Regions from separate parts of the Homo sapiens genome. Here region 1 is linked to region 2. Evidence: promoter capture Hi-C in 16 types of primary human blood cells and fetal thymus (Javierre and others, 2016). All regions are on one chromosome and are shown on one strand. The core of a region is centred on a gene start or on the middle of the fragment in contact, and the rest is flanking DNA. Distances in the headings are between cores, read along the strand shown.

The links. Contacts are between HindIII fragments. The CHiCAGO score rates a contact against its expected background, and 5 or more counts as called.
Region 1: a fragment that was not itself captured here is called in contact with the fragment with the promoter of ZNF615 in region 2 in 1 of 17 cell types (naive CD8 T cells); the score reaches 6.6 in naive CD8 T cells.

Annotation. Positions count from the first base shown.
Region 1 is chr19:53,374,286-53,381,482 of GRCh38, forward strand. It overlaps ZNF525 (zinc finger protein 525), which reads left to right. Exons shown (of 4, transcript NM_001348156.2): 3 at 1,485-1,611; 4 at 6,437-7,197. Among named protein-coding and RNA genes, the nearest start is that of ZNF525, 12 kb to the left of the region's middle. RefSeq lists an enhancer at 1-487. The HindIII fragment of the contact is 2,659 bases long and covers 2,713-5,371 here.
Region 2 is chr19:52,004,958-52,011,323 of GRCh38, forward strand. It overlaps ZNF615 (zinc finger protein 615), which reads right to left and starts at 3,254. Exons shown (of 7, transcript NM_001199324.2): 1 at 3,184-3,254; 2 at 2,336-2,373. LOC124904755 (a long non-coding RNA gene) reads left to right here and starts at 3,341. Exons shown (of 2, transcript XR_007067321.1): 1 at 3,341-3,522. RefSeq lists enhancers at 3,015-3,624, 3,685-3,764. The HindIII fragment of the contact is 6,775 bases long and covers 1-5,842 here.

The sequences.
Region 1 (7,197 bases), core at 2,792-5,291, 1.4 Mb after region 2:
TACCTTGATATTTCATCCTGCTAGTTGTGAATTTACATGTTGTCATGTTAGTGAACATGGCTAGCTTGCTCTTTGACATCTGCGTTGGAAATTAGCTGAATGACAACATGTGGGTCCTTTGTGATTTTTCCCTGTATAAAGAGTGCCATAGTGGCTGCCTCTGCACGTGCCTGCATTCCTACAGATATCTGAAATTTCCTCCAGGTCAGGCAGTTGAAAGGGTGATTGCTTCTTCTAGGATGGGGCATTTCCTGTTTTCTTAGATCTGACAAGATTCCTCCCTGCCCCCAACCGCCAAAGTGTCCTTTTCCAGCAAGATGAGATTCCTCTTCAGTTATACAAAACTTGCTATTTTATATTTTTACAACCTGTATTTATATATACATACACACACACATATACATATACATACGTATAGACACACACAAATGTATATATTTTGAACAACTTTTACATTTTGAAAATCTGGGGAAAATGACAACCCTTTGTATTAACATCTAGTTTTTTTGTGAGTCTGTGTAGGTCTCATTATTTTGTTGACAAATATATCTATATAATGGATTTTCCTACTTTGAGTAATCTAGTTTTCATGTATTTTCTTTTATTTTGAGACTGGGTCTCACTGTGTTGCCCAGGCTGGAGCACAGTGGTGTGATCTTAGCTCACTGTAACCTCCACCCTCAGGCTCAAGCCATCCTCCTCCGTCAGGCTCCCAAGTAGCTGGAACCACAGGTGCCTGCCACCATGCCCAGCTAATTTTTTTTTTTTTGAGATGGAGTCTCTGTTGCCCTGGCTGGATTGGTGCAATTTTGGATCATTGCAACTTCTGCCTACTGGGATCAAGCAGTTCTGCATCACCCTCCTGGGTAGCTGGGATAACAGGCATGTGCCACCGTGCCTGGCTGGATTTTAGTTTCTGATCTTTCACTGTGGACGTTGTAATCTCTGAAGACATCACTCATACTCTGTCTCATCTAGATACTGAATGTCACTTAGTGTGTCAACAAAAGTTTCTGCGCCAGGCAGGGCCCAGAATTGGGCCTGCAATTCCAGCACTTTGAGAGACTGTATCAGGCAGATCACGAGGTCAGGAGTCTGAGACAAACCTGGCCAGTATGGTGAAACTCCGTTTCTACTAAAAATACAAAAATTAAATTGGCGTGGTGGCATGCACCTGTAATTTCAACTACTCAGGAGGCTAAGGCAGGAGAATCGCTTGATCCTGGGAGGTGGAGGTTGCAGTGAGCGGAGACTATGCCATTGCACTCCAGCCTGAGTGACAGAGTGAGACTCTGTCTCAAAAAAAATAAAAGTATAACAAAACACAACTGGGAAGACAAAATGCAGTGAAAAACCCCTTACTCGGATTTGTCAGAACATTCACTGCAATTAAATCCATGCTTTCCCCTCTCTCCTCTTCTCATTTTCTGTAAAGATAAGAACTCCTCCCATAACCATTTGGTTAAAATGTGTTTTCATTTCAGGGTCTATTGACATTCAGGGATGTGGCCATAGAATTCTCTCAGGAGGAGTGGAAATGCCTGGACCCTGCTCAGAGGACTCTATACAGGGACGTGATGCTGGAGAATTATAGGAACCTGGTCTCCCTGGGTGAGGATAACTTCCCTCCAGAAGTGGGGATGTGTCCTTTCGTATCTTTGTATTTTCTCTTTTTTTAGATAGAGTATCTCTCTCTCTGTCCCCAAGGGTGGGGTGCAATGGTGTGATCATGGCTCACTGCAATCTTGAATTCCTGGGCTCAAGTGATTGTCCCACCTCAGCCTCCCCTCGTAGTGGTACAGGTGCATGCCACCATGCCAGGATACTTTTTTAGTTTCTTTTTTTAGAGACAGGTTCTTGCTGTGCGGTTGAAGTTGGTCTTGATCTCCTGGGCTCAAGACATCCTCCTCGGCCTCCCAAGAAGCTGGGATTACAGGCGCCAACCCCCGTACCTAACTATTGGCTTTTGTTTTTAAACTTTTTGCATATGTGTGTCCTTAGGGCTAATATGAGTCTTCTGTGGACAACAAGTAGTTGGTTCCTGTTGATTGAGTCAGTCTTTGCCTTCTGAGTGCAGAGTTAAATATTTGCATTTGAAATATTACTGATGCAGAAGACCTTACCATTGCCTTTTTGTTACATATTATCTGTATTTCTTGATTTTTTTTGTTGTTATTTTGTTCTTATTTTGTTTTTTCAGGTTTGTTTTTTGTTCTTCATTCTCCATTTCCTGCTTATTGTGTTTAATTGCTTTTCTGTGTAGACACGCTTTGACTCCTTTCTTCTTTACTTTTGTTTGTTTGTTTGTTTATGATGGAGTCTCCCTCTGTGGCCAAGGCTGCAGCGCAGTGGGGCGATCTTGGCTCACCGCAGCCGGCTCCACATCTCGGGCTCAAACAATTCTTGTGCCCCAGTGGCTCATGCCTGTAATCCCAGCACTTTGGAAGGCCGGGGGTGGGCAAATCACCTGAGGTCAGGAGTTCAAAACCAGCCTGTCTAACGTGGTGAAACTCCGTCTCTACTAAAAATACAAAATTAGCCAGACACGGTCGTGGGTGCCTGTAATCCCTGCTACTCAAGAGGCTAATGCAGGAGAGTCACTTGAACCCTGGAGGTGGAGGTTGTGGTGACCTGAGATTGTGCCATGCACTCCCGCCTGGGCAACACAGTGAGACTCTGTCTCAAAGAAAAAAAGATTCCACAACCTGCAAAAGCTTCTCTTTCTCCACCAGAACTTTATTTATGTCGGAATTATTTCTGTGTATGCTGCATTTTCATTAACATATATGTACAGTGTTTTTTCATGCTTTTTTCTTCTAAATAATAGGAAAAAAAGTTGAATTATGAAGGGACACATATACCAGTTTCTGTATCTGTCCTTTTATTTGCCTATTTATTTATTTATTAATGAGACGAAGTTTTGTTCTTGTCACCCATGCTAGAGTGCAATGGCACAATCTCGGGTCACTGCAACCTCCAACTCCTGGGTTCAAGCAATTCTCCTGCCTCAGTTTCCCGAGTAGCTGGGATTATAGGCATATGCCACCATGCCTGGCTAATTTTGTATTTTAATAGACATGGGATTTCTCCTTTTTGGTCAGGCTTTTCTTGAACTCCCGCCCTCAGGTGATCTGCCAACCTCGGCCTCCTAATCTGCTGGAATTACAGGTTTGAAAAACTGCGCCCGGCCTATCTGTCTTTTTATTTACCTTTACTGGAGAATTTTATATATATTTGTGGGTTGGAGTTACTCTTAGGCTTCTTTCATTTCTTTTTTTTTTTTTTTTGAGATGGAGTCTCGGTCTGTCACTCAGGCTGGAGTGCAGTGGCACAATCTTGGCTAACTGCAACCTCTGCCTCCCAGGTTCAAGCGATTCTCCTGCCTCAGTTTCCCAAGTAGCTGGGACTACAGGCATGTGCCACCACACCAGGCTAATTTTTTGTATTTTTGTTTTTTGTAGAGACGGGGTTTCACTGTGTTAGCAAGAATGGTCTCGATCTCCTGACCTCATGATCCTCCTCCCTCAGCCTCCCAAAGTGCTGGGATTACAGGTGTGAACCACCTCACTCAGCCGGCCTCAAAGTTTTTAAAACATGTTATTGCTATTAGATGGCTTCAAGTATTGCAAAATTTATAGTACAGGCCCTAAACTTCCTTTGTTTAATTAGATTTGTCAGCCTTCAGTGATGTGAATCATGAGATGCTTCTTTTCCTGTCTCAGTCATTTCACTGTCCTGTCAGAAATAGCTTAGACTGGCCAGCTGAGGTGGGTCATGCCTTAATCCCAGCAGTTTGGGATGCTGAGGTGGGCAGATAGCTTGAAGTCAGGAGTTTGAGACCAGTCTGGCCAACATGGTGAAACCTCGAATCTACTAAATACAAGAAATTGGCTAGGTGTAGTGGCTCAAGCCTGTAATCCCAGCACTTTGGGAGGCCGAGAGGGGCGGATCACCTGAGTTAAGGAATTTGAGACCAGCCTGACCAACATGGTGAAACCCTGTCTCTACTAAAAATACAAGAATTAGCTGGGCGTGGTGGCACATGGCTGTTATCCCAAGTACTCGAGAGGCTGAGGAAGGAGAATCTTGAACCCGGGAGGTGGAGGTTGTAGTGAGCCAAGGTTACACCACTGCACTCCAGTCTGGGCACCAAAGTGAGACTACAGGCTGAGGCGGGAGAATCTCTTGAGGCAGGAGAATCGTGCCACTACACTCCAGCCTGGGTGATAGAGCGTGACTCGGTCTCAAAAACAAACAAAAAAAGAAATAGCTTAAACTGGGAGGCTTAAGACACAGAAATTTATTTCTCATGAGTTTGGAAAGTGGGAAATCCAAGAGCAAGGTGCCAGCCACATTGGTTCCTGGTGAGAGCCTTCCTCATGGTTTAGCCCAGCCATCTTCCTGCCATGTCCTGACATGGTGGAAACAGGAACAGGCAACGAGCTCTTTAATGTCTCTTTTTATGAAAGCACAAGTCCTATTCACGAGTAGTCAACACCCGTGACCAAATTGTCTCAAAGGCCCCATCTGCAGGAACATCCTATTGGAGAATAAGAACTCTGAACATGGCGTTTGGCCAATACAAACATTCAGACCAGGGAGCCTGCATCATCTTATTTATGTTTTTATTGTTTAATTTGTTTCATACAATGTTTTCTCTGATCTCAGTTTATAAATTTTCCCAGTACACATTCTATGTTTTATATTTTATGCATAGTGAACTAGATACATAGGGCAATGTATATATATATATAGAATTGCTGTATTGCCTGGCTGTTTCATAAATGTAGTTGTGACATCATAATTGCACCCTCCGGCACTATTAGTCAATTCTTTTTTTTTTTCTTAGAGACGAAGTCTCACCCTGTCACTCAAGCTGGAGTGCAGTGGTGGGACCTTGGCTCACCACAAACTCTACCTCCTGGGTTCAAACGATTCTCTTGCCTCAGCCTTCTGAGTAGCTGAGATTACAGGCACCCGCCACCACACCCAGCTAATTTTTTTGTATTTTTAGTAGAGTTATGGTTTCACCACGTTGGCCAGGCTATTCTTGAACTCCTGACCTCATGGTCTTCCCACCTCGGCCTCCCAAAGTGCTGGAATTACAGGCATGAGCCACTGCACCCGGCTGTTAGTGAATTCTTATTCATTATAATGCTGCATATTTTTTTGACCTCATACATCAGAAGGTAGTGATCTTAACATGTATTTCAGTTCTTATATTGTGTGCTGGTGGTAAGTAGAAGTTGTGCTTTTTTCTTAACAGGGAATTGTTTAGAATTCTGCAGTTTGTATAAATGTACTTATGATTTGCTTGCTGGTTTTATGCGTTACAGTTATTTTACCAATTCATTTTTATGATTTTACATAAAGCTTTTCGGTATGTGGTATGCAATATAACTGACACAGTTTACTAGTTAATGTCACAAAGTGCCAGCGGGTGCTGTGGCTCACGCCTGCAATCCCAGGACTTTGGGAGGCTGAGGCGGGTGGATCACTTGAGGTCAAAAGTTCAAGGCCAGCCTGGCCAATATGATGTAACCCTATCTCTACTAAAAATACAAAAATTAGCCAAGCATGCTGGCATGTGCCTGTAATCCCATGTACTCAGGAGGCTGAGGCAGGAGAATGGCTTGAACCCAAAAGGTGGAGGTTGCAGTGAGCTGAGATCAGGCCATTGCCCTCCAGCCTGTTGTGACACAGTGAAACATTGTCTCAAAAATACAAAAATAAAAAAAAAATTTTAAATGTTACAATATGCCTTTTCTGCATGGATATAGGTAATTTTATGACAGTTATTCAGAAAAATATTTTTTTTTTTTTGAGATGGAGTCTCACTTTGTCATCCAGGCTGAAGTACAGTGGTGCGATCTCGGCTCACTGCAACCTCTGCCTCTTGGGTTCAAGCAATTCTTGTACCTCACCCTTGCGAGTAGCTGGGAGTACAGACGTGCACCACCATGCCTTGCTAAATTTTGTAAACTTTTCTTATCTTCTCAGTGCTATGATTATTTAACAATACAGAATTTCCATTGATTTTGGTTATCCTTACATGAGCTTGCTGTGGATTATTTACCAGTATATTATATTGTGTGGTCCTTTAGTATTTATTTGTATACAGTAAGTATGCTGTAAATATGAAGAATATATACTTTTCATTGATGTGACAGTGATATGTCTTTTGCAAACTGTTAGACACTTTAGGGTCACAGTGGAAAAATACTCCTTATTTTAGGCTTACACATGTTTGTGCCCTTCAGTGTTTTGTCATGATATTGGAAATAAGCTTTCATAATAATAATTTGAAGCACATGTAATCGCCCTTTATTTATTAAAGAATCTTACGATTTTGTGTTCCTAAACTTTGAAGATCATGTTTGGGAAGTTTAAAATCAGTATTGTCTTTTGTGTACCTATTAGTGTTTATATTTTGTAGGTATCTCTTCCAAATGCACAATGAAGGAGTTCTCATCAACAGCACAAGGCAATACAGAAGTGATCCACACAGGGACATTGCAAAGACATGAACGTCATCACATTGGAGATTTTTCCTTCCAGGAAATTGAGAAAGATATTCATAACTTTGAGTTTCAGTGGCAAGAAGATGAAAGAAATGGCCATGAAGCACCCATGACAAAAATCAAAAAATTGATGGGTAGTACAGAGCAATATGATCACAGGCATGCTGGAAACAAGCCTATTAAATATCAGCTTGGATCAAGCTTTCATTCACATCTGTCTGAACTCCACATATTTCAGCCCAAAGGGAAAATTAATAATCAAGTGGAGAAGTCTATCAACGATGCTTCCTCGGTTTCAACAGCCCAAAGAATTTCTTGTAGGCCCAAAACCCATATATCTAATAACTATGGGGATAATTTTCTGAATTATTCATTACTCACACAAAGACAGGAAGTACGCATGAGAGAAAAATCTTTCCAATGTATTGAGAGTGGCAAAGCCTTTAATTATAGCTCACTCTTAAGGAAACATCAGATTATTCATCTAGGAGAGAAACAATATAAATGTGATGTATGTGACAAGGTCTTTATTCGGAAGCGATACCTTGCACGCCATCGTAGATGTCACACTGGTGAGAAACCTTACAAGTGTAATGAGTGTGGCAAGTCCTTCAGTCAGATGTCATCCCTTACATATCATCATCGACTTCATACTGGAGAGAAACCTTACAAATGT
Region 2 (6,366 bases), core at 2,004-4,503:
AATATTCCATAAGAACATATAGGCCGGGTGCGGTGGCTCACGCCTGTAATCCCAACACTTTGGGAGGCCGAGGTGGGCAGATCACGAGGTCAGGAGTTCGAGATCAGCCTGACCAACATGGTGAAACCCCGTCTCTACTAAAAATACAAAAATTAGCTGGGCATGGTAGCGCGTGCCTATAATCCCAGCTACTCAGGAGGCTGAGGCAGGAGAATTGCTTGAACCCAGGAAGCGGAGGGTGCAGTGAGCCAAGATTGTGCCATTGCACTCCAGCCTGGGTGACAGAGTGAGATTCTATCTCAAAACAACAACAACAAAAAAGAACATATAAAGTAGGAGGATGGCAAATGAAAACGTATTTTAAGATATCTGCATAGCAGAAGAGTATAAAATACTAATTACCATAACATTAACAAATAAGTTTATATGTTGTTTGTAATCAATAGTGTCAGCAATAAAACTAATTTTTAAAAAATTATTTCCATGTTAAAAGAGAGGTCTATGGTTTCCGTGGCAGCTACTCAACTCTACTGTTGTAGCTCAAAAATGCCCACATACAAAAAAATAGACAAATGATTGTGGCCAGGTCCCAACAAAACTTTATTAACAGAAACAGGTGCTGGGAGATTTAGTCCATGGGCTCTAGTTGCCCAACTGTGAATTTGTGCAGAAAAGCCATATGGTCACCTAAATCAAGAGTCAGTAATATAGTATCCAGGACCTGGACCACCTGTTTTGTAAATAAAGTCTTATAAGAACACAGCTACATGCATTCCATGACATTTCATCTCAGGCTATTATCACATTACAATGGCAGAGTTGAGAATTTGGGTCTAGAATGTCACTCAGTAGAATGCAGTATAAAAAAATAATCAAAGATGACTTTTGAATATAAGGGGCAAATTATCAGTATTTGCCTAATACGTCTGTATTCCTTTAGTCAGGTGGCTGGATACAAAATTTAAATAGAAAAATCCTATATCCTCCTAAAGCATATACAGATCGAGTCAGTATTAAGAGCAGAACCTTTCTTGGGAACAATTTAACATTCTATTGAAAATTGCCAATAAAGGTATACCTGGTAACCCAAAACCCCATTCCTAAAACTTTCTTAAAAGGTAATATTGGCAAAAGTGTGCTATCTGACAGGTCATTTTTACTTTCTTCACTTGATTTTTCATAGGGAAAACACAGGTTTACATCAGAAAAATATTAGCATTCTACATTTAAAATAAAATTGCTGATGGTAGTTCAGTAATATAAGTTTACGGCTTTAAATGTTTTCATTAATAGAAAAAAGAGAGAAACCAGGCGGGAGGAAGGGAGAGAAAAAAATGAATATAAATACAAATTTTACAAAAGACAAAACCAAAAATAATCCTCAGAGATAATCGTGAGGAAAAGATGTTTAACTCCTCTTTTGGCCAACAAGTAAAGCGACACAAGTTATGCCAATCACACAATGAGCAAGAAGCAGAATCAGGGCTGAAAATCCACTTTTGTTTCACTTCAAAATCCACTTTTACTCTACTTTATACCGAACCAAAATTATCTGTAAATCAGATGCCTCCCTATTAAGTAAATAAATAAAGCAATTAAAGGGCTATTAGTAGAATTCTAGTTAATCATATACAGAATTATTTAGAGGAATGGTACTTATGTCTGTAACTTACTTTGAAATATACCAAAATCGACAACAAATAAGGAATGATTCACAAACAGAGGAATGGATGAATACTTAGAAAACCAGTAGAGCTGATCTAATACAATGTTAATGGTAAAAGCTAGGTGGTAGGCATATTGGTATTAACATTAAACTTCTTTCAATATTTCCATAGGTTCAAAAATTTTCACAAAATAATATGTTAGGCAGAGAGAAAAATATTGTAATACTAAGAATTAAGATGACCAAATATAAAATAAATATTTAAAATTAATTTATCTTTTGTTATAGATTATAAGGAAAGGGGAGTCAGAAAGCAATACACTGCAATAAAAGTAATAGTCTAGATTGAAGATTAAAGGCAGGAAAAACAAAATTCATGGATAAATGGATAATCATAAAATGTTCCTAAAAATAATACCTAAACATTTTAAAACATTTCACTTCTATCCAAATGTACGCATAAACTTAATGTGAATGCACTTATAGTACCACCGGCTCAAACAGTAAAAACAACTTCTAAATGTTTATTACATAATATAAAGCGAAAAAGATAATAGTACCATTTACATAATTTATCTGAATTATGAATATTAAGCACATAACATACACGTCTAAAATTGAAATATTCTGAAAATTTGACAAAGGTTATCTTTGAGTAACCGAGCTTACCATGGCAGAGATGTTATCTTACTTGTGTCAGAAAGAACCTGAAAAGAAATATCCAAGAGGATACGCTGGAAACTTGCAGGACAAAGGGTAGAAGCCGCATCTTAAATATAAAACATACTACTTTTAGGTATGCTAGATGACTGATCTCGCCAAAAACTTCCATTTCTGAGGATTCAAGACCAAGGGGTGATGGAAGGTGCCAAAGGGGATTTAAAAACCAGTCGTGGAGAAGGGTCTTGGGCAGAAGGGGAATGCTAATGAGCATCAATTCTGTTCCAGCAGCCAGGGCTGGGGCTAACCCATCACCTGCCATGGTTCCCAGGCCTCCAGAGCTGCAGCCCACATCGGAATCTGTGGCGCTACCACCACCGCCACCGGGATTAATTCCAAAACCTGGATCAGAAACCTCCGTACCTTAACCCCCAAGACAGTTCCTCAATCATTTAGTCCCAAACAAAACCTGAACCATAAACCGATTCGCTGACAAAACAAACCCTCCAGTTCGCAATCACTGAGCCCCGCCAAAGGACAACACCAAAGACACCAGAATGTGACTTGGGCACTCAGTAGCGGATCTCTAGAGATCTTTAACCACAAACTACACGAGGACCCTGTGACTGGTCCCAGAGGTACCCCGATCACACACACACACACCCTATCACGGACCTCTTGTAGTTCCCCTGCGATAGGAATCGGACCCACGCTAAGCTCCTGAAAGAATTCCACTGGCGTCGCCAAACGCTGGCGCCGACAGATACCAGTCCATCACCACTGTCCACGAACACGCCCAGCCACGGACAGAATTTCCTCCCCCGTCACCACAGCGACCACCCAGTGACTGAACTTACTTCCCAGAACTTGGTGGGCTCCGGCCTCATCTCTCGGCCTCCTCAGTGCCTGACGGCGACTATCCAGGGTCGGAGGCGTTCCCAGCGTTTGCGCAGATGCAAGATGGCCGCGCCCTCGTCGCCTTGGCTCCATGGGGGCCGCCATCTTTGAGTATCTGACGTACACAAGGCAAAGGGCGCGTTTTGGCGCTGGTGACCGGGGGTGACCGGGGGTGACCGGGGATGGCCGGGAAGATGAAAGAGCACTGAAACTGTCCCATTTCCTGGCACCTCAACCCTTCATAAATACGGGTCCATATACAGAGGCTCCAGTTTACACAAGACAAAAATGGCGTGGAGGTAAATCCCTTTCAGCAGCTGAATAGAAGGCTAAGATGGCCGCGACGTTTACACTTTGTACAAAGGTTAGGAAACAGTTCCTTGTGAGGGAAAAGGAGAACCGGCCGAGAGGGGACACTTCGGCCAAAGCCAGATTTCTAACAAAGTAGCTTGAAGCGCCTTTTGAACGCAGAAGAGGGCTGTTAGCTACGCTGACGGAACAGGGGTAGCAGTCACAGACTAGGTAATGAAAACGGTTGGAACGTGCCAAAATTATGTTGGGTGAAAGGCATGGGGAAAAGCCAGTAAAAGCCAGAAAGTATAGTTCCCAAGGCGGAGGGGAGAGCCTGGGACCCAGGTGGAGCCAAATATGAGGGCTGGACTCAGGAGAAGTGGCCAGAAATTAAGGGAACAGGACCACTTCAGTGAGAAAAAAAAGGTTGGGAAAGAGGCCGGGCGCGGTGGCTCACGCCTGTAATCCCAGCACTTTGGGAGGCCGAGGTGGGCGGATCACCTGAGAGCGGGAGTTCGAGACCAGCCTGACCAACATGGAGAAACCCTGTCTCTACTAAAAATACAAAATTAGCCAGGCATGGTGGCGCATGCCTGTAATCCCAGCTACTCGGGAGGCTGAGGCAGGAGAATCGCTTGAACCCGGGAGGCGGAGGTTGCTGTGGGCCAAGATGGCGTCATTGCACTCCAGCCTGGGCAACAGGAGCAAAACTCCATCTCAAAAAAAAAACAAAAGAAAGAAAGGTTAAGAAGGAGATCACGTTATACTACGTGTGCCAACCGCGAATAGTATGTGCAAAGTCATGGCAATGCTGAACTGTAAATATAAATCCAACCAAACTTCCTATATTAGAAGAATGAGAGAAAGGAAATGCCTGTGTGAATCTATGTGTGTGATATAGGTATCAGTATATAAATATACAGAGAAATTGTCAAACTATTTTTCAGAGTCAAGTTCGTGTTCCATTTGCTCTTCTCACCCTTGGTATATGAGAGTTTTTCTTTTTTTTTGTTTTTTTTTTGTCTCTTTTTGAGGCAAGGTCCACTCTGTTGCCCAGTCTGGAGTGCCTGGGGAGATCACAGCTCACTGTAACTTGGAACTCCTGGGCTCCTGAATAGCTGGGACTACAGGTGGGCACCACCACACCTGGCTAATTTTTTAATTTTCTGTAGAGACAAGGGTCTCACTATGATGCCCAGCTGGTCTTGAACTGGCCTCAAGCAGTCCTCCCACTTCATCCTCCAAAAGTGCTGGGATTACAGGTGTGAGCCACTTCACCCTTCACCCGGCCTATAAAGAGATCTGAAAAGAAATAAGAAAAAAGATGGGCGCGGTGGCTCATGCCTGTAATCCTAACACTTTGGGAGGCCAAAGCGGGAGGATTGCCTGAGTTCAGGAGTTTGAGATCAGCCTGGCCAACATGGCGAAACCCCATAGCTACTAAAATACAAAAAAAATTAGCTGGGCATGGTGTCTCAGGCCTGTAGTCCCATTTACTTGGAAGGCTGAGGCACGAGAATCGCTTGAACCCAGGAGGCAGAGGTTGCAGTGAGCCAAGATCATGCCACTGCACCCCAGCCTGAGAGACAGAGTGAGACTCTTGTCTCAAAAAAAAAAATAAATAAAAATAAGGAAAAGATGATCAACTTAAAAGCTCCCTAAAATTTTCTATAAATACATGAAGGAAATAAACAGGACACTTTTTTTAATGTAAATGATCCTAAACAATTTAAAAAATACCAGTTTTACTAATATTCAAACAAATGCAAAGTAAACGTGAAATATAAATGTTTTAACCCTTATTAAGATTTGTAAAGATTGAATGACAAATCATATTTAGATTATAAGGCCATGGAACAAAGGCATTCTGTTATGCTAAGCCTCTTTAAGTCTTCTTTTTCTGCATGGTAGGTAATAATGTTGTCAATTACATACTGCTTTAAATGAATTGAGATATTATCATACTGGTCATAATTCGAAGTTCTTAAGCATTACATTATTTCTAGGTATAGGATTGTGTTTCTATATAAATTCGTAAAATGTTTTTGTAGTACAGTCTGTTATTACCCAGTTTAAACTTTTCCTTCTCCTTGAGCCATGAATTTTAAGAATTGATTCAATAGAACTTTTCTTTGTGAGAACAAATATGTGCAAGGATATTTATGGTATTGATCTGACAATTATAAGGAAACAAATACTTTTGTGGTTATTGCATAAATTTATTCTTGCATCTCTATATTCACATCTTTGGATAGTATTCTCCATAGTGACTGACTAATGTGTCCAATAGGACAGTAGCAAGTGTAACACAAATGGAGGTGAGAAATAAGCTTGCTCATCAAGGCTTGCTTGTCTCTTAGAGATCTTCCAACACATTGTAAGAAAGCCCAGACTAGCCTCTTGTTGACTGTGTAAATAAAGGCCTCATCCATTCCAGCAGAAGCCCAAATATGTGAAAAAAGCTATTTAGACCATGCAGCCCCAGTCAAAATCCAACCACTAGAGCCTCCGGCCCAGCAGTCCCAATTGTTACTAAACTCTGTGGACAAACATAATGCCATGAGTGGGTGGGGGTCACCTAATCTGCCATCCAAGTGCTTATCCCTGCTCCTAGCCAAGCAGGACTTGCCAGCTTGGGTGGTGTCCAAGTAGGGAGGGGCCCTCACTCTTGGATCACCATAAGAGTTGAGACAGCTGGGTCTGCAGGACATTGGAAAAGTCGGGTGTGCCTTCCTCTGTAGGGCCACCTGGGAAGGATACAGCTGTCTGCAAACCATGATGTCTGCCTGAGGGAGCCCCATGAGCAGAGGATGCCCAAGGCCTTGGGAACCCACGCCTTGCACTAGATTTAA